Linked DNA regions of Homo sapiens: regions 2, 3 and 4 are each linked to region 1. The links are contacts of gene promoters, found by promoter capture Hi-C in blood cells and fetal thymus (Javierre and others, 2016). All regions are on one chromosome and are shown on one strand. The core of a region is centred on a gene start or on the middle of the fragment in contact, and the rest is flanking DNA. Distances in the headings are between cores, read along the strand shown. Region 1 holds the start of RCOR3 (REST corepressor 3). Region 2 overlaps NEK2 (NIMA related kinase 2). Region 3 has its middle 25 kb from the start of RD3. Region 4 holds the start of SLC30A1 (solute carrier family 30 member 1).

Region 1 (6,307 bases), core at 3,224-5,723:
AGCTACTCAGGAGGCTGAGGCAGGAGAATTGCTTGAACCCAGGAGGCAGAGGTTGCAGTGAGCTGAGATCATGCCACTGCACTCTAGCCTGGGTGACAGAGCAAGACTCAGTCTCAAAAAAAAGAAAAAAAAAAAAAGAGTATCTCGTCTTCCAATCCATGAGTACAGCCATTCATTTGGGTCTTTAATTTTTCTCAATAATATAATTTTCAGTATAGAGTTCTTACACATCTTTCATAAGATTTATTCCTAAGAGTAGTGGGCTGAATCACATCCCCAAAGACATGAGGTGTTAATCCTTGGAACCTATAAGTGTTACCTTATTTGAAAAAAGGGTCTTTGCAGATGTGATTAGGGTAAGGATCTTGAGACAAGGAGATGATCTTGGATTATCCAGGTGGGCCCTAAATATCATCACATTGTCCTTATATAAAAGAGGTAGAGGCTGGAGTGATGTGGCTTCAAGCCAAGAAATGTCAGCAGACATCAGAAACTGGAAAAAGCAAGGAATAGATTCTTACTCAGAGCCTCTGGAGGGAGCACATCTCTGTTGACACCCTGACTTCAGACTTCTGGTCTCCAGAACTGAAAGAATACGTTGTTTTTTTTTTTTTTTTTTTTTTTTTTTTTTGAGACGGAGTCTCGCTCTGTCACCCAGGCTGGAGTGCAGTGGGGCCATCTCAGCTCATTGAAACCTCTGCCTACCAGGTTCAAAGGATTCTCCTGCCTCAGCCTCCTGAGTAGCTGCGACTAGAGACACATGCCACCACGCCTAGCTAATTTTTGTATTTTCAGTAGAGACAGGGTTTCACCATGTTAGCCAGGATGGTCTCCATCTCCTGACCTGGTGATCCGCCCGCCTCAGCCTCCCAAAGTGCTGGGATTACAGGTGTGAGCCACCGCACCTGGCCATAAGTTTGTTTTAAATCACAGAGTTTGTGGTAATTTGTTACAATGGCCATAGGAAACTCAAACACTAGATATTTGAAATTGTTGATGCATTTGTATACCATTTTTAAAAAATTCATTTTCTTTTTTTTTTTTTGAGATGGAGTCTTACTCTGTTTCCCAGGCTGGAGTGCAGTGGCGTGATCTCGGCTCACTGTGAACTCCGCCTCCCAGGTTCAAGCGATTCTCCTGCCTCAGCCTCCCAAGTAACTGGGATTATAGGCGTGCACCACCATGCCTGGCTAATTTTATTTATTTATTTAGAGACAGAGTTTCACTCTTGTTGCCCAGGCTGGAATGCAACAGCATAATCTCAGTTCACTGCAACCTCTGCCTCTCAGGTTCAAGTGATTCTCCTGCCTCAGCCTCCTAAGTAGCTAGGATTACAGGCACCCACCACCACACCTGGATAATTTTTGTATTTTTAGTAGAGACAGGGTTTTACCATGTAGGCCAGGCTGGTCTCGAACTTCTGACCTCAGGTGATACGCCTGCCTCAGCCTCCCAAAGTGGTGGGATTACAGGCATGAGCCACCACGCCTGGCCAAAAACTCATTTTCTAATTGTTTAATGCTAGCACATAAAAATTTAATTGATTTTTATAGCTAACTGTACCCAGCAACTTGCTTAAAATCACTTAATACTAAGTGTGTAGATTATTGTAATTTTATGCATAAAATGATAGACTATCATGCTTTCTCTAGATAACAGGTTTATGTATTTCTTTCCAATCCTTATACATTTTTCCTTGCCTTTATGCATTGCTGGAATCTGTAGTACAATACTGAAGTACATCCTATCTTTTGACTTTATAACTATGAGAAAGTATTCTGTTCCAAATTTAAAATATGCACCTAGTAAAACTTTCAAAAATACAGTAAAAACACCAGCCAAAAAAATAACAGCCTTCTAGTTAAATCCAAAGGCCTTTTCTTAAGCCCTTCTCATGATTCTGCATCAGTGGACACTGTTTATTAACCCTTTTTTTTTTTTTAGTTTTTTTGAGACAGTCTCGCTGTCGCCAGGCTGGAGTGCAGTGGCATGATCTTGGCTCACTGCAATCTCCGCCTCCCGGGTTCAAGCGATTCTCCTGCCTCAGCCTTCTGAGTAGCTGGGATTACAGGAGCCTGCCACCATATCCAGCTAATTATTGTATTTTTAGTAGAGACGGGGTTTCACCATGTCGGCCAGGATGGTCTCGATCTCCTGACCTCATGATCCGCCTACCTCGGCCTCCCAAAGTGCCAGGATTACAGGCGTGGGCCACCGCGCCTGGCCTATCAAGCCATTCTAAAGCATTCTTTCCATGTCCAGCTTCTTCTTTTCCTCTTCTAACCCATTACAGTCAGGCATTTCCAAGATTTCGCCTTAGACCTTTTCTCTTTGTATATTAGTCCTTGTTAGCTATTGGGAAACATTTTAAGGTCCATTATTATTCAGAACCAGGCCAGCTTCAGGTGCTTTCCTTTTCTTCAGGAACAAAACAGAAACCTATTATACTTTCCTGTTTAAAAAATGCCATACTCTCCCCTCGCCCAGGTTCTTCTCCTAACTGTGGAATGCAGTCTTCTCTGCGTCTGCCCTTTTGTGCTGTGCTCGAATGGAATCTTCTCACTTTACTGGTTTTACTAATAAACAGAAGTTACAAAGGTCCCTAAATCTTTCCAACGTTTTGGTTCCTGATCTATATGCAGATTCCCTTCTGCAGGAAACTGCATGGAGTGCCACAACATTGGGTGTTAGAAAGCTGGCTGGCTCAGAGGCCTCAGAGTGAGGAGCATTTGACAGGGTCTAGCTTTTGTGTTACAGGACCAAAGAAGCTGAATCATGTTCATTAGAAACTGCTGCATAAAGACCAACATACCAGTGTATTAATTTGTAATGAAAAATAACGACTGTCAAGGAAAATGGCTATTCATTTCATTTGGCCAGGGCATTCTCTCCTTGTAGGAAAACTATACGGGAATTAAAATAATATTCAGAACTGCATTTATTGAGAAAAGGAACAGAATAAAAGGTCCAGTTTTATGATTCAAATATTTAATGGAATCACATTAAGCTTTAATAGAGAGATGAGACTATCTCTACTACTAGAACCAGATAGTTTTGTACACACACAGGAGACTTTTCACTTCAGAAATATTTACTTCCCAGGGTTTTCTTGGCTCAATTCCTGAGTTAGATATATTATTTCTCTCAGTAAGGTTTGCTCTGGCCAGAGACGTTCATTTCTGGTTTGATCCACTCTGGATTGACCCATAATAGAATTATTACAAGACAGTATTTTCAAGTGTTTGGAGAGTATCTGCTGAACCCCAATACCGCTCAGCATACATCTGCATACTAGAGGCTCACAGTTAAATCCTCACTTATTTCTACTTATTCGTCAGTGGGGGGGAAGAAATCAGAAAAAGAGGAAAAGAAAATCATAAACAGCCCCCAATGCCAGGCAGCCTGGCACGCAGCAGATGCCCTCAAATCTGGTGAAGGAATAAACGCAGTTTCCTACTCCTTTCGCCGAATGCAATTCAGAAAAGCATTACAGAGCACAACTCCTTCCAGGCTGGAAACGCTGCCAGAAAGCAGCTCTCGCTTCACCTCTGCCGGGGGACTCCGCCCTCTCCCCCAGCGCTCCAAGCGGAGACCGCAGGTCAGCAAGAACTGAAAACGCGTCTACTGGGCCAGGTCTCATGTTTATCTTATTTCCCCCTCACTCCACAGCACTCACTCCCCAGCTATTAAAACAGAGAAGAAAAAAAAGGAAAGAAAGATGGTAAGAATAAGACAGTAGGGTTAGGATCGGGGAGAGGGGCTTCAGCAAAAAACAGTTGCATCGCTCAGCCCCGGAAACTCATCCCGTCATCCCCAGACTCTCTCTCGGGAACTGGGCCCTACTTCAGAGATCCAGAAACAAAAATTGTAGCGTCGAGATGGTTAGGGCCGAGTCTACTTCTTTCGCCGGTTGGGCCTCAGAGCCCCAAGGCCGCCCTGCTATACTGCGCGACTGCACCGCGGGCCAGAGCGCGCCCCTAGCTCGAGGCTGCCAGCGGACACCGGGAAACTGAGCGGCCTGCGGGTCCAGACATCTGAGGAACGCCGCGCTCAGGCCCGTGCCTGCAGCCCGGTCCGCAGAGGGGGGGGGCCGCTCCCCCCGGTCGCCCAGTCGGGTCGCGCCGGTCCTTTCTCAGGGTGACCGCGTTCCTTCCGCCCAGAGAGGGCAAAGAGTCCCGCTCCCTCGTGTGCATCTCCCGCCCGCGCTCCGGAGCGCCCCCTAGGAAGAAAGCCCGAGCGGCGGCCACGCCTCGGTGGCGATTTTATTAGCGCTTGGTTGGGGTGGCCCGGCTGCCTGCGAGCGGGGTTTCCCCGCCCCTCCCCCCTTCCCCTCCCCCCAGGCGGCCGGAACCTCCCTGCGGAGCGGAGTGATACCGGCGGCGGCGTAGAGCGCGGTGCGGCCGAGGGGCGCCCGGGACTGCGCGGGGCGGGCGGCGGCGGAGGGAGGAGGGGAGAGAGGCGGGGCCGGGGCGGGTTGTTGTGAGGCGACTGCGCTACTGCCGGAGCGGGGCGGTTATGGCGGCTCCATATTAACAGCCTCCTCCTCCTCCGCCGCCGCCGCCGTCTCCTCCTCCTCCTCCTTTCCCTCCCGCCCGCGCTCTAAGCCATCTCCGCCTTCACCCTGACGCCTGCCTCTTCCCCTCACCTTTCCCCCTCCCCTGTTCTACCATGCCCGGCATGATGGAGAAAGGGCCCGAGTTACTGGGGAAGAACCGATCGGCCAACGGCAGCGCCAAGAGCCCGGCAGGCGGCGGCGGCAGCGGCGCCTCGTCCACCAACGGCGGGCTGCACTACTCAGAGCCCGAGAGCGGCTGCAGCAGCGACGACGAGCACGGTGGTAGCCTCGAACTCCTCCCCGCCAGCCCGCCTGCCCCCCTCCCTCTTCCCCTCCCCCAGCCCCCTCCCCTCGCCGCTCTCCCGCCCTCCCTCCCCTCAGAGCCTGGGCGCTGCGGTAGCCTCGAACTCCCGGTGCAGTGCAGCAGCACCCCCGCGACCCCCCGTCCCTCCGCCCTCGACCAATCCTCCGCCTTTGCCCCCCCCCGCTCCCCGCCCCCAATCCGCTGCCATCTCCCGGAGTGCCCCGAGTTGATATCTTCCCATCCACCCGCCGCTTCTTTCCTCCATCTAGCGATTTTTATTTTTTAAGTGTCTCTTCCTTTTTCTTTCTTTTCTTCTTTTTTATTTTTTATATATATTTTTTGGCATTGCTTTGCAGATGTTGGGATGAGAGTCGGAGCCGAATACCAAGCTCGGATCCCTGAATTTGATCCAGGTAGATATATTTGCTTAAGCAAAATCTCATATCCCCTTTCCTGGGCTTGGTTTGGGGTGGACGGGCTAGGAGTCCGGGCATGGGGCCGGGAGGGGATGCGGGGTTGGGCTGGGCAGGCATCCGTGGCGGGGAGGCTGTCAGGCTTGGCCGGGCTGTGACACTGGGCGTGTGGGCAGATGTGTGCACTGCAAGGTTAACATGGTTCCCTTCGGAGGCCACTTGCCCGCTGGGGGCATCGCCTTCCTAGCCCTTGAGCCTGGGGCAGGGTCGGGGTGAGCAGAGGGAGACGGCCCTTGGCGGAGTCCAGGGTCCGAGGCCGCGGGCTGGAGGAGCAGGCGTGCGGACTGTATGGACGAACCGTGCAAATGTCAATTGCCACCTCGCTCGCCCCGGCGCCGAGGGCCGCGCTCTGTCGGGCGGGTGGCAGAGGCCAGGGCGGCTGTCACCGGCCGGGGAAGCCAAGGGCGAGCCCTGCCGACCTGTGCGCAGCCGGGATTGTCTCTTTTCTTTCTTTTTGGCTAGGTGGTGTAGCTTTGGTCGCGGCAGCTCTGCGGAGTGCAGGAGCCGCGGAGAGAAAGGGGTGGGGGAAGGGGGTGGGGAGACGCCAGCGGCAGGCACACCTCGCTCGCCAGCCAGCTCTGGGAAGTTAGACCACAGGACAGTGGCTGCAGCTGCCAAGGAGACATTTTCTCCCCGACCAGCCAGGTTCCAGCGTCCTCTGCCAACCCAGCTTGCGGGCTCCCTGTCTACTTTTCTCCAAACAGGCTCCCCGGCGGTCACGAGATTTCAGCCTGTGCAGGGATTGGGCGAGAGTTCCGCATATGGAGGCGCCCTTGCTGGAGCCTCTCGGAGTGGAGCGCGTTTCCTTCTCCCCACCCTGCCTGAGACCCTTCTCAGTTAAGGCTTTGGACAGACTTTGAAAGGGACCCACCTTTTTTTTTCCTCCTTACAGTTTGTCAATTTTTGCCCAGTGCCCATAATATTGCGTTTGTGTCAGACATTGGATTTCTATGTTAGATATTAAAGAGCTTACTT
Region 2 (5,951 bases), core at 2,383-4,882, 410 kb after region 1:
ATTTACATTTGGCAATCTTATCACTACTAGCATGCCTGATACTGATAAGCAATGTTTGGGGAAAGGATTCTCACTATGCCTCAGTCAACCTGATTATGTTAGTTTTTAATTGAGTGTTTTAGTAGGCTGTATGTTATCTTAGATTTTCTTGAAAGGACTTGTTTAAACAAATACAAAGTTAGCTTCAACCTTTGGTCATCTTTTGTGGGAGTAACTCATTTGGGAAAACAAAAAACTAAAGCTATCTCTGCTCTTCACTGAAGATAAGCAACAGCTAATTTTCAGGGCATGATCTGGCCTCACAGTACAAAAATCTCCTTCTTCTGGTTGAATGACCACACCCAAACAAAAGAAAAAAAACACAATTCAGTTAGGTGGTAGTTCATAGGATTAGTATTAATAACAAATGTTACTATTTATTCATGGCCCCAAATTCAGAAAGTATTCAGATTTCAGTTGCTATATGAAATTATGGCTGGTCACAGTGGCTCACGCCTGTAATCCCAACACTTTGGGAGGCCGAGGCAGGTGGATCACCTGATGTCAGGAGTTCAAGACCAGCCAGGTCAACATGGCAAAACCCCATCTCTACTAAAAAATCAAAAATTAGCCAGGCATGGTGGCAGGCGCCTGTAATCCCAGCTACTCAGGAGGCTGAGGCAGGAGAATTGCTTGAACCCGGGAGGTAGAGGTTGCAATGAACCAAGATGGTGCCACTGCACTTCAGCCTGGGCAACAAGAGTGAAATTCCATCTCAAAAAAAAAAAAGAAAAGAAATTATGAAACACTGGGGAAAGTTATAAGAAAAAGCTTTCTTATTTTTTACAGAGGTTTCCAAGTAAGTATAGGTTGTACCTATACAGTAAGCATATCTCACAGGACTATACAATATTTCATTATTTAAAGCCTGGATTGGGCATAAAGCTGCAGAAGTAAAATCAGGTGAGTCATGAGGGTGACAGGTCACAAATACGACCCCATCTCTCGTCTCCTGATGTTAAAATGAAGAACCTCACTCTGTAGCTACCTTGCATAACCCTAAATGCTTGCGAGTAGCTCTCATCTTGGTGGAGTAGACACACTTTCAATATCAAAACTAAATTAGCATCTAATCAGTTAATACTCATAAGTCAATGTTAATACCCACCAGAGTATTATTTATAGACTTAAAATATCTTGTATCTAGATTCTCTATTGAACTGCCTGAACAGACCAGGTGTGGTAGGTCACACCTATAATCCCAGCACTTTGGGAGGTAAGATGGGAGGATCACTTGAGCTCAGGAGTTCAAGACCAGCCTGGGTAATATAGTGAGACCCCATCTCATTTTCAAAAATAAAAAGTTAAAAAAAAAGAAAAGAATTGCCTGAACATATCTCATCTACATACTGTAGGGTTTTAGACCTGGAATTCTGTTGGAGTGGCCATTTCAAAAGACAAAAGTCATGGTTTTTTATTATGGAAAGCAGCAATTTTAAGACCTTCCTTTACAGTGGGAAAACATTAGGGTATTCACAGTAGAGACGAAAAAGAAAAAAGTAACTCTAGAGTAAAATACAAGGCTATCGTATTAGGGCCATCACAGTTAAGGCCCAATAATATATAACTAGCAACTGATCTCAGAGAAAGATGTCCAACATGAAGGTGCCAGCAAGCCTGATTATTAAAAAGTCTAAAATACATATTTTGGTTTCTCAAGTATTTTTCAAAAGCTTCTAATAAGATCTGTATGTATAAAATATTCTGCTCAAAGAGATATTCAGACACATCAAAATAACCCACTTGGTAGTTCTCCTTTGCTTTGACCCCCATTCAGACTTACGCTCCAATCTTTCTTCTCTTGCTTTGAGAGCTCGCTCTCGCTCCTGTAACTGAATTTCCTTCAGTTTCAGCTCACTCAATACAGGGCTGGAATCCTGCGATTTTTCTGGCTCTCCTAATTGTCGCCCTCTTCTCTCAAGATTTCTTCTTTGCTCGTCTGCAACCAAATCTGCTATTAAAGGGTTCTCAAGAATTTCTTCAACAGAAGGTCGATGGTAATCCTGGGGAAAAAATACTCAGTATTATAGTCAGATTGCATAACAGAATAGTCCTCCTAAGACAGCAGTTAAAATAAAAGGACAAAAATGTGTTTCCAAGACAAAAGAAAGGACTCCTTTATGGCTAGGTCTTAAAAACTTGGAAAAATAAGTTCACTGGTGGTTTTAACTCATGAGGTTCTGGGTCCACAAGGTAATGCAGATGTTAACTTACCTTTTTTCCCTTTTCCCCTTTTCACCTTTCTAAGAAGGTTCAATCCCTGAAGATTGGCACATCTTGTGCTGGGGCTTGGTAGCATTGCTAGGGTCTGTTTTAGGGGAAGTACTGCCCTTGCATTTCTAAACTACATTTAGCAAGATACTCTCTCACTGACTCTCAATCCTGTCACTTCATCTGTATCCTTCTCTGTGATCCTACGGCATTTTCCTTCTTCTCTTATGTCAGCCTGGTCCCCAGAACATCTCCTTCCCCATTCTATAGCCAGAGTTTTTCCACATAATCTCTTTATTGATTTTCCCTCTGTTTTTAGCTGTCCTCCGTCCGCCCTCCATCACCCCTCCCCTTCTTCTGGTCTTTAATCTCTCAATTAGAGCTAGAGGCAGAGTAATAAACTCTTATTTCTGGCCCCTTCCCTCACTACCTGCCACTGTGAGGTAGGCAAGGACAAGGGGAACGAGAATTTGAATTCTTTTTGCAATCTTTCCTTGCTACCGACCATCTGTTAGCATGACAGAGTGGGAGGAGAAATAAAGAAAGCGCAGAAGGTGGGCCAGCAAGGATGTGCAATTTGCCAAATTTACATATGTTTTCACTTGTGTTAACACAGTAAATTTAGCTAAGAAAGTATATTTAACGTTTCTTCAGTCTCCATTGATCTACAAGAGAGAATGTATGCTCTGACACTTAACTGACAGCTAGAAACAGACAATATATCATCTTATCATCTTTACCTTTAAGTTTAACATCCTCGTAATAATTTCATTCAATTCATCAGAGTAACGGTATGGAATTCGCCTGAATTTGCCTTCTCTGATTTTCCCAGCGAGTTCTTTCTGGCTAAAAGCTGTAAATGGAGGCCTAGGGTTAAAAAAGAAGAAGAAGACGACGAAGACATTTTCAAATTGTAAAAATGAAAATATACAATAGGAACTAAATCAAAAGCACAGCTTAAGCTCCAGTTTGTATTTAAGTTTCTACTTCTGGGATTTTCTTCTTATAAGTAAGTTTCCCAACCTTGGCACTATTGACATTTGAGGTCATATAATTCTTTGTTGTGGGGGGCTGTCCTGTGCATTATAGGTATTTTGTAGCCTCCCTGCCCTCTACCCTCTAGATGCCAGAAGCACTCCCCAGCTGTGATAACTAAAAATTTATCCAAACATCATCAAATGCCCCATAAGAGGCAAATTTGCTTCCCTTATCCCTAGTTGAGAATCACTGCTCTACAGAATAGTTTCAAAGGGAAAGAAAATGAAAAGAAGAACAAAGGAAAAGAATTGGAGCTCTTCCCTGCTCTACAGATCCCCAGACCTCTACCCGAGTCTTGTTTCATTTCTTCCACATCCTTACAGTAGCTTTACCTTACCTGCCTGACCTATGTGCTCTCCCTTGAGCTAAGTGTCAATCTAATAAGAAAGCACCTAACCAGCCAAGACCCTTGAACAGTCAAGACCCAGCCTCATGGCTTATAGTTTTAATTTGTGAATAGTTTCTTTTAGCCTGTTCATCTATCTACCTTAATTTTACCCAGGGTACAATTCTTTCAGACTTGAATATACTTTCGTTAGCACAGAGGCTCAAAAAACTGAACCCAGTGAAATGTGACAAACAGTACAAACCTTAGACTAGGAATCTGTCTTCATCATACTTACATTAATGCACATAACTCATACAGCAAGCAGCCCAATGACCAGATATCTGATTTCTCATTGTAGGACATGCGATTCATTTGTTCCTATACAGGGAAAAAGGGTAAGAAAGTGGAAGGTGTTAAGAGTTTATTTTGTTTTGAAACTTAAAAAACACATTAAATTACTCCTGAGATAAAAACAGAACCTCAAAGTTTTTAGCTTATACTTTATCTTGAAATTTATAATGGAAAAAAGGCAATGATCTTGTTCCAATACACTCCATCATACATAATTCATTCACTCATTTTCCATTCACAAATGAAAGTGCTTAGTATAGACTAGGCACTGACAATACAGAGGTGAATATGAGAGACTTCTACTCTCAAGGCAAATTAAGAAACACCATTTTAAAAGAACTAGAGGAAATTTAAGAATAGTCAAAATATGTATCTAGTCCACATTTAAATGGATATAGACATAAATAGCTAATTGAATTATCCATTTATATTTTGTCTTAGTCCACTCCATAAATCACAGTAGTAACTAATATTATCCTTACCTATTTTATTGTTTGCCTTTCTTCCACATCTACAGTAACAACAGCCTACCAGAGCTCCTATTCTCAACAGAGGGAATAGAAGCAATCTCTAGTGGCTGGTTAGTGTTTTAAAGTCCAACTGGTGAGTCTGATGCCACTTTTTGACAATCAGTGCCTTAGGAAAGCTGAACCACTCTAATTACAAGGGCAGGAGGGAAAAGGAACAAAAGAATAGGTTTCAAATTTCCCAAGAACCACTTCTGGATAATTGTCCTTTATGTTAAAAACATTCTATTTGGAATTTGATACAGTGAGAAAATGGTACTGTTCTGGCTATTTTTAGTCAAAACCAAAATCATTAATTTACAAAGTTTTATACTATAGTAAGATCTGTTAACATAATTTATAAATATTTGGAAAATCCTAGAAAGGTGAACTACTAAAATACTAACAAATATTTCTTCATCTTTATCTGTTCAGATGTTATATACTAACACATTAGTGCTATCACAATTGACTTAAACTTTTTAAAAGCCATCAGACAATATCTAATAACAGCCATAAACATTTACCCCAGCAATTTCATTTTATGAGCTACACTCCAAGGAAATAACCAAAAAGGAAGAAAGAATAATTCATACAAAGATATGCAGAGCAGTACTTCTAAGAATGGTGAAACATGTTGGAAACAAAATATCCAGCAATAGAGGTAATTGGTGAGTGGACTCAGCAAGATATTTCAGGGATAGGCAACAAAAAAATAAAATGTACAAAAAGTTAACATTGTAAAAACATGCTATCTGAAGTGAGCAAACTTCCTGAGCTCTGATTCTGCATACACAAGAATCATTTACAGAGCCTCTTAAATGCAAAGTCTAAAATAAAAAGTAAAATATTAAAAAAAAAAAAAAACAGAGTTCAAGAACCCACCCAGAGATCGAAATTCACTCGATGGATTTGGGTTTGGGTTTGGGACCCAGAACTCTGCATTTTAAACAAACACTCCAAGTGAGTCTGATGCAGATAACTAGGACCTACACATTGGGAAACAACTCTTGAGGGCAAGGACAAAATCCATTTCATTTTTGTAATCCTTGAGTTTAATGCATCATAGTCATTCCATAAAAGCTTGAACTGAATATGCTTTAATTTGCATGAATGCTCAAAAAATTGAACCCAGTGAGAGATGACAAACGGCGCAAACCTTAGACTAGGAATCTGTCTTCATCATACTTACATTAATGCACATAACTCATGCAGCAAACAAAAACTGATATAGACTTTATTGGTCTGGTGGTCCATGTGGAAAAATATAACAGTATTTTCAATTCTTGGCTACTAGATATTACTAAACAAACAGAAAACTCAATTTCCCTGCTTCAGAATGCTTAACATTAAAAGATGTTTTGGCTGGGCATGGTGGCTCACGCCTGTAATCCCAACACTTTGGGAGACTGAGGTGAGCAGATCGCTTGAGGTCAGGAGTTCGAGACCAGCCTGGTCAACATGATGAAACCCTGTCT
Region 3 (5,873 bases), core at 1,097-3,596, 260 kb after region 1:
TTGGCTTCTCAAGTCGGGAGGCTGACTCCTTGAACCGGGCGCCTCACTTCACGATTGCTTTCAGCTCAAAGGAGCATTTTACAACAGGAACCATTATCCCTGGTAGCTTGACGTCCAGCCCTGACACGATTTTCTGATTGACTAAAATTAGGGTAATGAGTTATGAGGGCAGAGAATGGAGCTGCGATCCCTGTAGGCGGGGGCAGTACCGCCTCTTATTTCCTCTGCCCAGGTGGTTAAGTTGGTAGATTGGGGTGTAGGTGTCTCTGGAGTTGGGCAGCAATGGGTGGGGTAGTAGAAGGACACCTGGTCTGTGTCCGGGGCTGGGTTCGAATCCCCACTCTGCCTGTGAGCTGAGAGCCCATGGGCACATCACCTGAGCTTTCTGCGTTTATCTGTAAAATGGGCAAGAGGCAATCAGTCATTTATATGAAAGCGGCCTGCAGTGCCTGGCACCGAGGCGGGCACGGATGGGCATTTGGTAAGGCAGGGAGGAGGAGCGCGGCGCCTGGAGGCTCCCGGGGCAGGGGAGAAGGGCATCGAGAACGGGGGCGGCGTGCGGGGTGGGAAGAGGAGAGAGTTCACGGCTTGCTCCTTCCCCTGCCCCCAGCCGCCTCAGCCCAGGCCTGAGTCTCTCCCCGTCTGGGCCTCTGCTTCCTGCAGGCACAGCCAGGGCCAAGACGCGCCCCTGGGCCTCCCTCCCCTTCGACGTCTCCACCCGGTATGGAACATTAATCATTAACCGTCCTGTGGCCAGGCCCAGCGGGGCGCCCGCTTCAGCTCTCCCGGTGCCACCTAGCTGAGTCACCGCGGTCTGGGCAGCTCCCCGCAGCCAGGACCTCCCTCCGGGCCGAGGGTCGCGGGGTTCGAGCCGCGGCGAGGTCTTGGGCTTCCCAGGGGCCGCTCCTCGGTGCGCCGCCGCCCACAATCAGCAGGGGGCGCCCGTCCCGACCGCGGGAAGCCGGCGGGGCCACCGAGCGGCGGGCTGGCCTGGCGGGGCGGTGTCAGGGCGGCAAGGCGGCGCCTCCCCAAAGCCGTAAACCTTCCCGCCCGGCTGACTACGCCGGCCCAGCCACGCACGCGCACCCCGCATGCCCCGTGGCCTGTGAGGTTATTCAAGAAGCCAAGGTCGGGAGTGGGGAAGGTCAGCCTCTAGCCCGGCACTGTCTGGAAAAGATCGAACCAATTAATTGACTGTAAGAAGCATGTAACCAATACAATGGAAGGCATTGCTACCCTTCCTCCACCAGGTTCAGGACCTCATGCCCAAGGAACGGCGCGCAGGAATTGGTAGTAGGTTGTGGAGGGTCAGGGGCTCTCCCAGCATCCTGAGGCTGTCTCCTGTGAAGGCCACTCCAGAGGTTAAAGCTTTCCCGGGTGCCAGGAGAGCTCTCCTAATTCAGCCGTAGGGATCACCAGTAAAGATGCTCAAAAATCCCAGCATCTCCCACTTGCAACCCACAGGGGATTCTATTCTACTCTCTCTAATTCCCCATGGCCACATAGTTGAGGTCACTTAACAATTTTTTTTAAAGACGGAGTTTCGCTCTTGTTGCCCAGGCTGGAGTGCAACGGCGCTATCTCGGCTCACCGCAGCCTCCGCCTCCCGGGTTCCAGCGATTCTCCTGCCTCAGCCTCCCCAGTGGCTGGGATTACAGGCATGCACCACCACGCCTGGCTAATTTCGTATTTTTTGTATAGATGGGGTTTCTCCATGTTGGTCAGGCTGGTCTTGAACTCCCGACCTCAGGTGATCCGCCCTCCTCAGCCTCCCAAAATGCTGGGATTACAGGCATGAGCCACCGTGACCGGCCGGTCACTTAACATTTAACCTAACACCCACCTGCCAGCAGGTCAAAGGTTATTGCCTATGACTGGCCAGGTTTCACTTCGGCTGCCGTGGTGCTCCTGATGTGACTGCACTGGGCAGACGGACCTGAAGTACTGTCCCTGTATTAAGTGGAGTGGCCCCGGGAATGAAGCCATAACAGCAGCCAGAGACAGCAGCCCAGATTGGCTGTCTTGACAGCCCAGAGCCAGTGTGGTCAAATCTGCCCCCATGATGCCTGTGTCCTTGCTATTCCCGCCCCAGTCATCCCCCTCTGAACCCCAAGGAGTAGCTGTGAGGGTGCAGGTGGGTGAAAGAGACAGGCAGTGGACATTAGTGCAAGAACTAGGGTCATGGGTTCTGAGTCCAGCTGGTCACTGCATACCTACGTGATGACACATAATTTCTCTGAGTCTCAGTTTCCCCAGCTGTAAACAGCACTAATAGGAACTGTGTGGACTACCTCAAAGGGTTGGTAAAGGGTTCAAATTAGATAACGAATGTTCATCACTAACCCATTCATTCGTTAAATGTTTATTACAAACTTGCCTGAAAGATGATGATCCGTCTTCTCAGTGGCAGCAGAAAAATCATGAAAGACCCTGCCCATGACGCCACCTGTGGTGCACACAGGCTTAGCACCAGCCTTTCTTAAACTGTGTGAGCAGGAGGGCTGCTGCAGAGGAGGAGGGATGCAAGGTGAAGGGGGAGGAGAGGCAGGAACTGCATGGTGGAGGAAGCAGGAAGAAGGGCGAGGCCTCACCCATATGGCCTCAGCAGGCCCTGTGATCTCCCTGTTGAGCCCAGGTTCTCCCAGAAGCTCCCTGGGAATTACTGAGCTGGGTGTGGCTTCCTAGCCCCACACCTGCCCAGCCAGCTCAGGGCCCCTCCGTGCTGTCTTCTCAGGATCCTGCTTCAACCTGCTGCCACTTCCCCATGCCTAGCTCACTGTCACTTTCTCCCTTACCTGCCCTCTCAGCCTCAAACTGATAATTTGGAAAAAGAGGCGCCTGGAAAAAACCACTTCCAGGGTACAGCAGGAACCAGCCTCACTCTTCTTTCTCTCTTTTAAAAATTATTACGATTTTTACTGAGATGGGTTCCAAGTATCACTCTCCACCACCTCATCACCTTCTGGGACCTGGATGGACTCCAGATCACTATGTTGCCTAGGCTGGTCTCAAACTCCTGAGCTCAAGTAATCCTCCGGCCTCGGCCTCCCAAAGTGTTGGGATTACAGGCGTGAGCCACTGTTGCCTGGTCTGGCCTCGCTTTTAATTTTGGCTTCCTGGAGGCTTTTGCTGAGGTAGAGATGCAGGCCACCCTTGCCTGACAATGCCTTCCAGGCAATTGAGTGGCTGAGCCAGTGGGAGAAGGTGGGCTTCTCTCACTCCCAGGTGTGGTGGTAGTGAACCAGCCCAGGTGGTCAACATGAACTGGGAACATGGAAGACAAAGGTAAAAGAGCTGGTAAGGGAAGCAAAGCAGGTTTGGGAATAAAGCTTAAAATCTGGTACAGAGTGGGTTACCATGCCGTCCCTCTGGGGCTGACACATCAGGCGGAAGCCCCCAAATACAGGGTTAGTCTTGTCATGTTACAGTTCTCCCACTGGGCTGAGAACTTCCCAAAGACACAAGCCATGTTTCTTCCTCATCTTATAACTTGTGTAAAAGGCTGGATCCCTTGGAGTACAATCTTCTCACTGGGCACCTGCTGGCCATAGGCCAGCCCGCAGAGAGCAGGGCAAGGGTACGCATGTGCCCCCGAGTGGCTCTCTTAGCCAGGCTGGGCCAAGGTTCACCCATTTCCAAGCTCAGCCTCTGGGCATACCATGTTTGGAGCCCAAGGGCAGTTTTCCATGCAACGAGGCACGTATCACTCTCTACCACCTTGTCACCTTCTGGGACCTGCGTGGACTCCAAATCCCTCTCTCTAGATGTAAAATTGAACCTGGTGGAGGCTCTGCAGCTGATGTGAAACCACCACTTCCTCTCTCCCCAGATGGTTCCAGCCAGAGGCCAGCCAGTCAGCCCTGTTAGGGTGAGCACCTACTGTGTGCAGAGCCAAGTGCTCAGTGTATGATACTCACCTTTTGTTTTGCCTGCCTATTATCCCTTCCCCTTATTCTGGCAAAAGCTTTCCAATTCTTAACCTTCCACTTGTAGTCAGTAAGATTCCCACAGGGCCCATTGCCAGAAGGAAGCCCCTGGGCCAGGCCTGGCCACAAGATATTTTACCCCAGCCTCTGACACTGGTCACAGAGATCATCAGCACCAGGGCTGTAGCTGGAACTAGTGGGAGGAGAAACTCTCTCTACTGGTGGATTACATGAGCCTGGGACTGCTGATGGGCATCTTGCATCACCAGGGGAGAGCCACGCCAAGGAACAGAGAAAGACCAATTCCTGAGGACATCGCTTAGGCTCCTGGAGCCACCGTGGCTGGAATGGCCAAGCTATGACTGCCTACATTTCCTAAGTTACTTTGAATTGGGTTTTCTGTCACTTGAAACTAATAATGGTGACCAAAATGAGGAGAGGAGGGTGCTCAGAGAAATAAAGAGAGGAAGTGAAATGATTTCTACTTTCAGAAAGGTCCCAGGCTGAGGGGAAATATGGTTTTCATCCTCGGGTGTCTGAACACATGATCTTCCATTTTTTTAACTGTGTGTGTGTGTGAGAGAGAGAGAGATTGTGATATATATATATATATATACACATACATATGTGTATATATACATATACACATTGAGAAAAATTCTTATACTTTTTATTTCTTTGTCAAAAAATACATATCCAGAATGGAAAACTTATTTAAAAAAGAAAAGAAAGAAAGAAAAAAGGAAGGAAGGTAACCTGTATGCCACCCTCCACTGTTACTCTTTTTCAGTGGGTTCATGTGTGCATACACCTTTAACAAACTACAGAGGGTCATCTGGTAGAGATTACTTCAATTTGTTTTTCTCCCCACTTACCAACACATGGGGATCTTCTTTGCAAAAACATAGAGGAAACTTTTAGGAGGCAAGTCTCATGGCCCTACCGTGTTCACATGCATCTCGCCACCCAGCCTGTCATCTTGTTTCCTAAAAGAGGCACAGGAGGCCATCTGTGGATGAAAAGTGCCAATTATTCTCCATAGTGTCGCTGTTAGAGAAAGTCTTAAAAAACAGAGCATTCATTCACTCACTTGTTCAATAAGTAAATATTTAAGTGCCTCTCAACATGCAGGGCACTGAACTATGCGCTTAGGGTATGATGAACAAAACCAGACATTGTCTCTGCTCCTTGGAGCTTACAGCATAGTGAGGCAAAGTCATTCATCAAACACTTGCCAAACACGTGTAAACCACTGGCTGGCACAGATGCTGAAAGGGCATAGCATAGGCAGGTTTGGTCCACTCAGGAGGGCTTTCCTGAGGAAGTGAGGTGTGGGCTGGAATCTAAAGGATGAAAGGTGCTAACCAGGCCAAGAGAGCGATGTGAGCATTTCAGGGAAAGGCACTGTAGTTGGAGAGAGTATGGCTGGAGTGGAGAGAGGGGGAGCCAGTGTCCCCCACCGTGAGAGTGGGTGGCAGAGAGAGAAAGGAGCCAGGTGATGCAGGGCCTTTGAAGTCACATTGCTAAGTTTTGTCATGGTCCTAAGAACAAGGGGAATTGGCTGGGTGTGGTGGCTCACACCTGTAATCCCAGCACTTTGGGAGGCTGAGGTGGGTGGATCACTTGAGGTCAGGAGTTAGAGACCAGCCTGGCCAACATGGTGAAACCCCATCTCTACTAAAAATACAAAAAATGGGCCGGTTGTGGTGGCATGCGCCTGTAATCTCAGCTACTCGGGAGGCTGAGGCAGGAGAATCGCTTGAACCTGGGAGGCGGAGGTTGTAGTAAGCTGAGATTGTGTCACTGTACCACTGCATTCCAGCCTGGGTGACAGAGCGAGACTCTGTCTCAAAAAAATAAATAAATAAATAAAAGCGGTTGGGGGAAAAAAGGGGAGCCACTGAAGTTTCCCCAAGCAGATGCGTGTATGACATGACTAGTTTTGTG
Region 4 (5,916 bases), core at 3,270-5,769, 320 kb after region 1:
CAGATTAACTTTGGTAGAATAAAAAGTTGAAATTCTCAAAATAATTTAGAAATGTAGTCTCAATATTATCATACAATAACCTAAATATTTAGTTTGGTAAACTTTCTTCCTTGCTCTTACTACCCCATTTGCCCCATTGTGTGTAAACTGTAGTTCAATTTGTTAATTATCTTACTGTTTAATAGCCAGCAATACAGAATACAGGATAGTAACTGATCTTATTTCCTACTAATAGCCATGAGTCACTCTTAAAATATGCTGCCATTATGCTATGTAATGATCTCAAAGGGCAATATCACCTAAAATGTCAAAGGAAACAAACTGTTGATGATTTTAAAGTTCTATCAATTATAATTCTAATAAAGTATAACACTGGGGGAAAAGAAAAGCAGAGAAATTCCAGTAACAATTTTATTTATCCCCCTAATTTTTATCATGGGAAAAATCCAGAAATCAAATGTCATTATGTTATATAAGGTTTAACTTACTTTAAACAAAAATGTAACATAGTGTTAAAACTGGCTTTCCAAAACAGTCACAGCATAGCTGTACTCTGTACTAATAATCACAAAATTGTAATATAGAACTCTGTTATGCAGTCCCATTATGTTCTTACAAAAATAGAATTAAACTGTGTGACCAGACAAGGACTTCAATTACACTACTTGGCAAACTTAGAATTTCAGTGGAGTCTTTTTCCTCTTGCAGTTTAAAGCAAAAGTCAAATATCACATCTTTTTCAAGACTCACAAAGATGATTCAGGTTGTTTGTTTGGCATGTTTTTAATCTCTATCACAACAGCAGGGATGTTTTCAGCTTTAGTCCTCCTGGGCTTCTTCTCTAGATTGTTACTAAGTTCTAAACAAGAAATGCTAACTGCTGGGGTCTTTTCTGCATCCTTTCCAGAAGGGGCTTGTGGTAGTGTCCCACAACATTGCTTCAAAGCACACTGGGTTCTGCAGGCAAGTTCACACGGAACTACACTTGATTTAGAGCCTACACTAGCAAATTCAGGCTGAATGGTAGTAGCGTGAATTCCGTGATTATGAAAAACGTCTTTAATGGTTTTAGCCACCTCCATGTATGATGTTGGATCTTCACATTTTATGTGAGCAGTGGCAATGATTCTGCTTCCAGCAAGTTGCCAAACATGTAATTCATGAACTTCCTCAACTCCTTCAACATTTCGAAGTTCTTTTATCAAATTTCTGATATCAATTTGTTTAGGAACAGTTTGTAGAAGAATAAGAGCAGATTCCTTAAGTAATGGATAGGTTGTGTAAAGAAGTATACAAACCATTACAACACAAAGAGTTGGATCTAAATATAGCACCCAGCAAGGACCAGCCTCATAAACTGATGCATGAGTACTATTAATTATTTCTACAAATGCTTTGCAGGGGTCAGGGAAACATGGATTCACACAAAAATCCCCTTCAGAACAACCTTTCCAAGAAAAGTAAAAGACTAAGGCATTTACTACTACAATCACTGAACCCAAGGCATCTCCAAGGACATGCAGAAAAACTCCACGCATGTTAAGTTGTCCAGCCCTATCTTCTTCCAGTTCCATATGGTCAGGTTCTCTGACAAGATTTCCATTCACTTGTACTTCCACTGTATCACCACTTCTGGGGTTTTCTGGGTCTACAAAGAAATAAAAATTTTATATCAAATACATTTAAAGTGTTTATATAAACATCCTTGTCTAATTCTTTTTAAGTGGTGATGAAGGTGAAAATTTTTTCAGAAAGTACAATTAAAAAAATGTGCTCAGAGCAATTTAATATAAATTGACATTCTGGGAATGAGCCAGGACATAATAGCCAGGGCTAAATTAAGTCATTGTGATACTGCTTCTTCACCCTCCTAACCACTCTCCTGCCTCCTCCTCTCCAAAATAGTGTATATTTTCTATGGGGGTGGAGTCCTGCAACCATTCTGCTATACTTTATGGTATATACAAAGGAAAACATAAAATTGAATGCTAACACCAAAATTAAATGCAGCTAGGAATAAGTCTACTAATACAAAATACCTGATTTGACACTCGGGCACTCTCTAGTCACTCTTTGTCACTGAGGCCAATTGCTTGAGAATAAAACCAATTTTAACTTTTAAACTTTTATTATGAATATAAAAGTTTCTTGGTAGGGGGGTTTAAAAACTGACAAATCAACAATAAAAATCAATAATCACAGAGATTATTAGAAAAATTGAAACTAAATGACTACCTGCCCTACTAACTTTTAAATCAAAAGTATTGATCTTTTCAAAAAGTATTGATCAAAAGTATTCAAAAAGATAAAAAGTATTGATCTTTTGAAATTACACACCAGAGAAACTTAATTTTCTTTGGAATAACACCTTGCCGAGTGGAGTGAGAGGAAAACCAATTACTTATTAAACCTTTCCAATGTACAACTTGAATTTCACTAACTTCATATTCTGCACTCGAAAAGGAAAATTATGTAGCATAATTTATAATGATACAAGGTAAATAAACGTAAGTGAAGGAAATAAGACCAAATTGTTAAGCACCATTGAGCTTGGGTAGTAGGACACTGGTTGAGTCATTTCCATCTCCTTTCTTTCAACATTTATTTTCAAATTTCCTTCAAGAGCACTTAATGTTAAATATAAAAAGCATCCACTAAAAATATAAGATGAATAAATTACCATCACTTTTAGTTCAGTACGATTATGAAAAGTCCTGGGAAAATGTTAAACATGCCCAGACAGGTCCTAAATCTATGATTTCCAGGATTAGGGATCAATTAGCTGAAGCATACACTGCTGTTCATAAAAGAAACCTTTAACCAGGGTTTACACGCTCTGAATGCATATTATGAAACGGAGTTCAATGGGCATAAGAACTACTTTGGCAGAGCAAGGTTTCCAGCACCCAACTACTGGGGACGAATTGGGGATTCTCTCCGTTTCCCAAGAGGGCCAAGGAATTGAATTGGGAAGCATTTCTGACGCTGTTATAACCATAACCAGACAAGTCTCCAGCAAAGTTGCTGCAGCCTGTAAAGACAGCCAAGTGCGGGTGTGGACTGCAGCGGGATGATGATCACCTCCTGACCCTTTTTCTTAGGGTCTGACCCACAGCCCCCACCTACAAATATGCCAGACGCGTCGCCGGCTCCTTGCACCCGACTGAGGGGGTTCTGATTTCCTGGAGCAGCAGCGGGGCGTGTGCAGGACGGGGAGGGAGCAGGCAGGGGCGGCGCGGCGCAGGCCCGCTCGGGCAGCAGGGGGCGTGCGGGCCACCCCGCCGAAGGCCAGGCGAGGCTCTGGGCACCCCAAACCCAACCACCTGCGGCAGCGACTTTCCCGGCTCACCTGCGGGGTCCAATTTCAGCCCGTTGGAGTTGCTGGTATTGGCCACCAGGGTGTTGGTCTCCTCCTGGTCGGGACCCTGCTCGCCCGGGGCCACGTTGATGTCGCTGCTCCCGGGGCGGGTGCTCTTAACGCGAGGCCCCTTGGGGAGGCCGTGGCCGTGGCCGTGACCCCCGTGCGAGTGGCCGTGGCCGGAGTCCTGGCTGAAGCCGCTGTGATGGTGGAAGAGGCAGAGCCCCAGCACGTTGACCAGCAGCCCGGCCACGCCGACCCCAAGGACCACCAGCGGCTGCTGCATCTCGTGCGGCTCGATGAAGCGCTCGATGGCCTCCAGCAGGATGGCGAAACAGAGGCCAGTCAGGAAGATGGCGTTCACCAGAGCCCCCATTACCTCGGCTCGGATCCAGCCGAACGTGTTCTTCTGGGTGGCGTGGGTCCGCCGGGCGAAGCGCTCGGCCACCAGCGCCACCACCAGCGCCAGCACGTCCGACAGCATGTGGAAGGAGTCGGAGAGCATCGCCAGCGACGAGGTCACCCGGCTCACCACCACCTCCAGCACCATGAACATGAAGGTCAGCGCCAGCATGCACAGCAGCCGGCCCCGGTTCCGACCCCAACACCCCATGGCTGCGGCTGCGGGGCCCGCCGAGCCCGGCCCGGAGACTGGTGCAGCGGCGGCGTTGGCGGGACGCGGAGGGTCGGCGACCGCGACACGGAGGAGCGCCCGAGTCGGGCCGTTCGGGAAACCGCTGAGGGGCCCCCGCGGCCGCACGGGGACAAGCCCGGGTCAAGCCGCCGAGCCCCGCGCCTGTGGGCGTTCTCCGCCAGCCGGCGGCGCCGCGCCGCGCAGCTCCTCAGGCGTCCGTCCTCAGAGCCGGCGCCGAGGCCCGGCTCAGCCTCAGCAGCCCCCACACCCAGGCGGCGGCGGTGGCGGGGAGCTGGGCTCCCGGAGCCGGGGTACCAAGAGCCGCAGCCGGAGCAGGAGCAGGAGGGCGGCGGGCGAGGGCGGCAGGAGAGGGCGACGGGCAGCTTCGCGCCGAGAAAGCTCCGAGCATCTGAGGGCTCTGCTTGCTGGTCTCCTCTGCGGCGGCTGGACTGAGGAGCGGATGGCTGAGGAGCTAGAGAGGCGGCGGCCACGGCAGCTGCACTCGGCCCGGTCTCGGGCGCCTTCTTCGCCCCCCCGCCTTTGCAGACGGTTTACAAAAAAACTTTGCTTTGCACTCGGAACCCCCGTTTTCACACGGACCCGAGCGTGACAAGGCCTTGCCGCCCCGCCCACCAGGCCCGGCACGCTTCCCCATTGGTCAGGACCCCCTCACGACAGCCTCGGCGTCCCGCCCAGCCACGCTCACTATTGGATGGAGCCTCGGAGGGGCGGGAAGGGGGCGGGGTCGCGGCTCCAACAGATAGGGGCGGGGCCTTTTCCTCCCGGAGCCGGGCGTGGGCCGGGGGGCCGTGGCCGGGTGCAGCGGCGGGCGAATTGGGGGCGCGGGCCGCGTGCAGCGGGAGGGGGAGGGGCTGGCCGGGTCCCCTCGGGTGTGGCGGAGTCCTGGCCTGCGGACCATCGCAACTCCCAGCACACCTGCGGGGGCCGGGCTGCAAAGTCTGCAAACAGACTTTGATCCTCCGAGCCCAGTCCACGTGGGGGCGGGCCGCGCGGCGGCTGTGTGACAGCTCGGCGGCGGGGGAGGGGCCGGAGGGGAGCCCCTGAGCGCGGGGCCCTCGAGTACTCGGTCCTGTCGGAGGAGGCCGACAGACGCATAAACAAGTGCGACTGTAACTTGGGACTCTGCTGGACGCCGAGCTGAGGAGTTAGTCCTCCCGAAGGTCTGCTAGGGGCGTGGACCGAATCTTTGTACATGTTTTGGGAAAGCCAGTTTCTCCTATCACCATCAACCCCTGGAGACCTTGTGTGAACTCAGGTGTCTGTCACTGATTATCTAAGGACAGTTCAGGGTACAGACTTCAGGCAGGAGAAACCTGGGCTCTGCTCCTTGCCTTGTCAATAGCCAGCTGTGTGGCTTTGAGCAAGTCACCTAATCTCTCTAGACCTGTTTCCCCATCTATAAAGGACTGGACAAATGCAACTCTGAAGATCCCCGTCTGACTCCAAAATTCTAAGGCTCTATGATTTAACATTTATTTATAGACTACACACGGTGGAATCTTGTGCTGGTTGCTATGGGGAGGTGGAGGGGCAGTAAGAATACAAAGGAACGAGTTTCTGTCCAGGTGGAGGTAAAATATAAACACGACATTTTAAAATTACGATGGAATACTCTTGATAAATTGTGCTATTTTAGACTGAATACATAAGCACTGTGTTGTGGGTGGAGATGAGTTGATCTGGAAAGGAACAGCTTGCCCATCTAAGGTGGGGTGGTGGCTGGAATCAGAGTGGCTTAAGCTGGACCTGAAAGGCCTCACCACAGCCCCTGCGCAGCAGAAGGACCTCCCCACCCACTGCCCTAGATTACTACTGGACAAATGCAGTGCCAGCTATTGCCTGGAGATGTGTATACAAGGCTTGTTTGGAGCTGTTATTTTGCATTGTTTTGGTATTCTTGTAA

The links. Contacts are between HindIII fragments. The CHiCAGO score rates a contact against its expected background, and 5 or more counts as called.
Region 2: a fragment that was not itself captured here is called in contact with the fragment with the promoter of RCOR3 in region 1 in 1 of 17 cell types (fetal thymus); the score reaches 6.5 in fetal thymus.
Region 3: a contact is called between a fragment that was not itself captured here and the fragment with the promoter of RCOR3 in region 1, in 1 of 17 cell types (fetal thymus). The highest score is 5.2, in fetal thymus.
Region 4: a contact is called between the fragment with the promoter of SLC30A1 here and the fragment with the promoter of RCOR3 in region 1, in 2 of 17 cell types (fetal thymus and monocytes). The highest score is 6.4, in fetal thymus.

Annotation. Positions count from the first base shown.
Region 1 is chr1:211,254,893-211,261,199 of GRCh38, forward strand. RCOR3 (REST corepressor 3) reads left to right here and starts at 4,474. Exons shown (of 12, transcript NM_001136223.3): 1 at 4,474-4,834; 2 at 5,216-5,272. The coding sequence starts at 4,669. LOC105372902 (a long non-coding RNA gene) reads right to left here and starts at 4,300. Exons shown (of 2, transcript XR_922552.3): 1 at 3,844-4,300; 2 at 2,921-3,683. RefSeq lists enhancers at 3,293-3,412, 3,687-4,188, 4,691-5,190 and silencers at 3,893-4,682, 4,753-5,052. The HindIII fragment of the contact is 7,419 bases long and covers 3,006-6,307 here.
Region 2 is chr1:211,667,291-211,673,241 of GRCh38, forward strand. It overlaps NEK2 (NIMA related kinase 2), which reads right to left. Exons shown (of 8, transcript NM_002497.4): 4 at 3,912-3,994; 5 at 2,991-3,117; 6 at 1,823-2,042. Among named protein-coding and RNA genes, the nearest start is that of NEK2, 5.4 kb to the right of the region's middle. The HindIII fragment of the contact is 3,844 bases long and covers 1,711-5,554 here.
Region 3 is chr1:211,514,664-211,520,536 of GRCh38, forward strand. No RefSeq gene overlaps it. Among named protein-coding and RNA genes, the nearest start is that of RD3, 25 kb to the left of the region's middle. RefSeq lists a silencer at 665-1,024 and an enhancer at 4,235-4,284. The HindIII fragment of the contact is 1,961 bases long and covers 1,367-3,327 here.
Region 4 is chr1:211,574,642-211,580,557 of GRCh38, forward strand. It overlaps SLC30A1 (solute carrier family 30 member 1), which reads right to left and starts at 4,520. Exons shown (of 2, transcript NM_021194.3): 1 at 3,350-4,520; 2 at 1-1,648. The coding sequence starts at 3,971. The coding sequence ends at 747. RefSeq lists silencers at 3,150-3,499, 4,000-4,309, 4,550-5,109 and enhancers at 3,610-3,719, 3,692-4,193, 4,194-4,693. The HindIII fragment of the contact is 24,351 bases long and covers 1-5,916 here.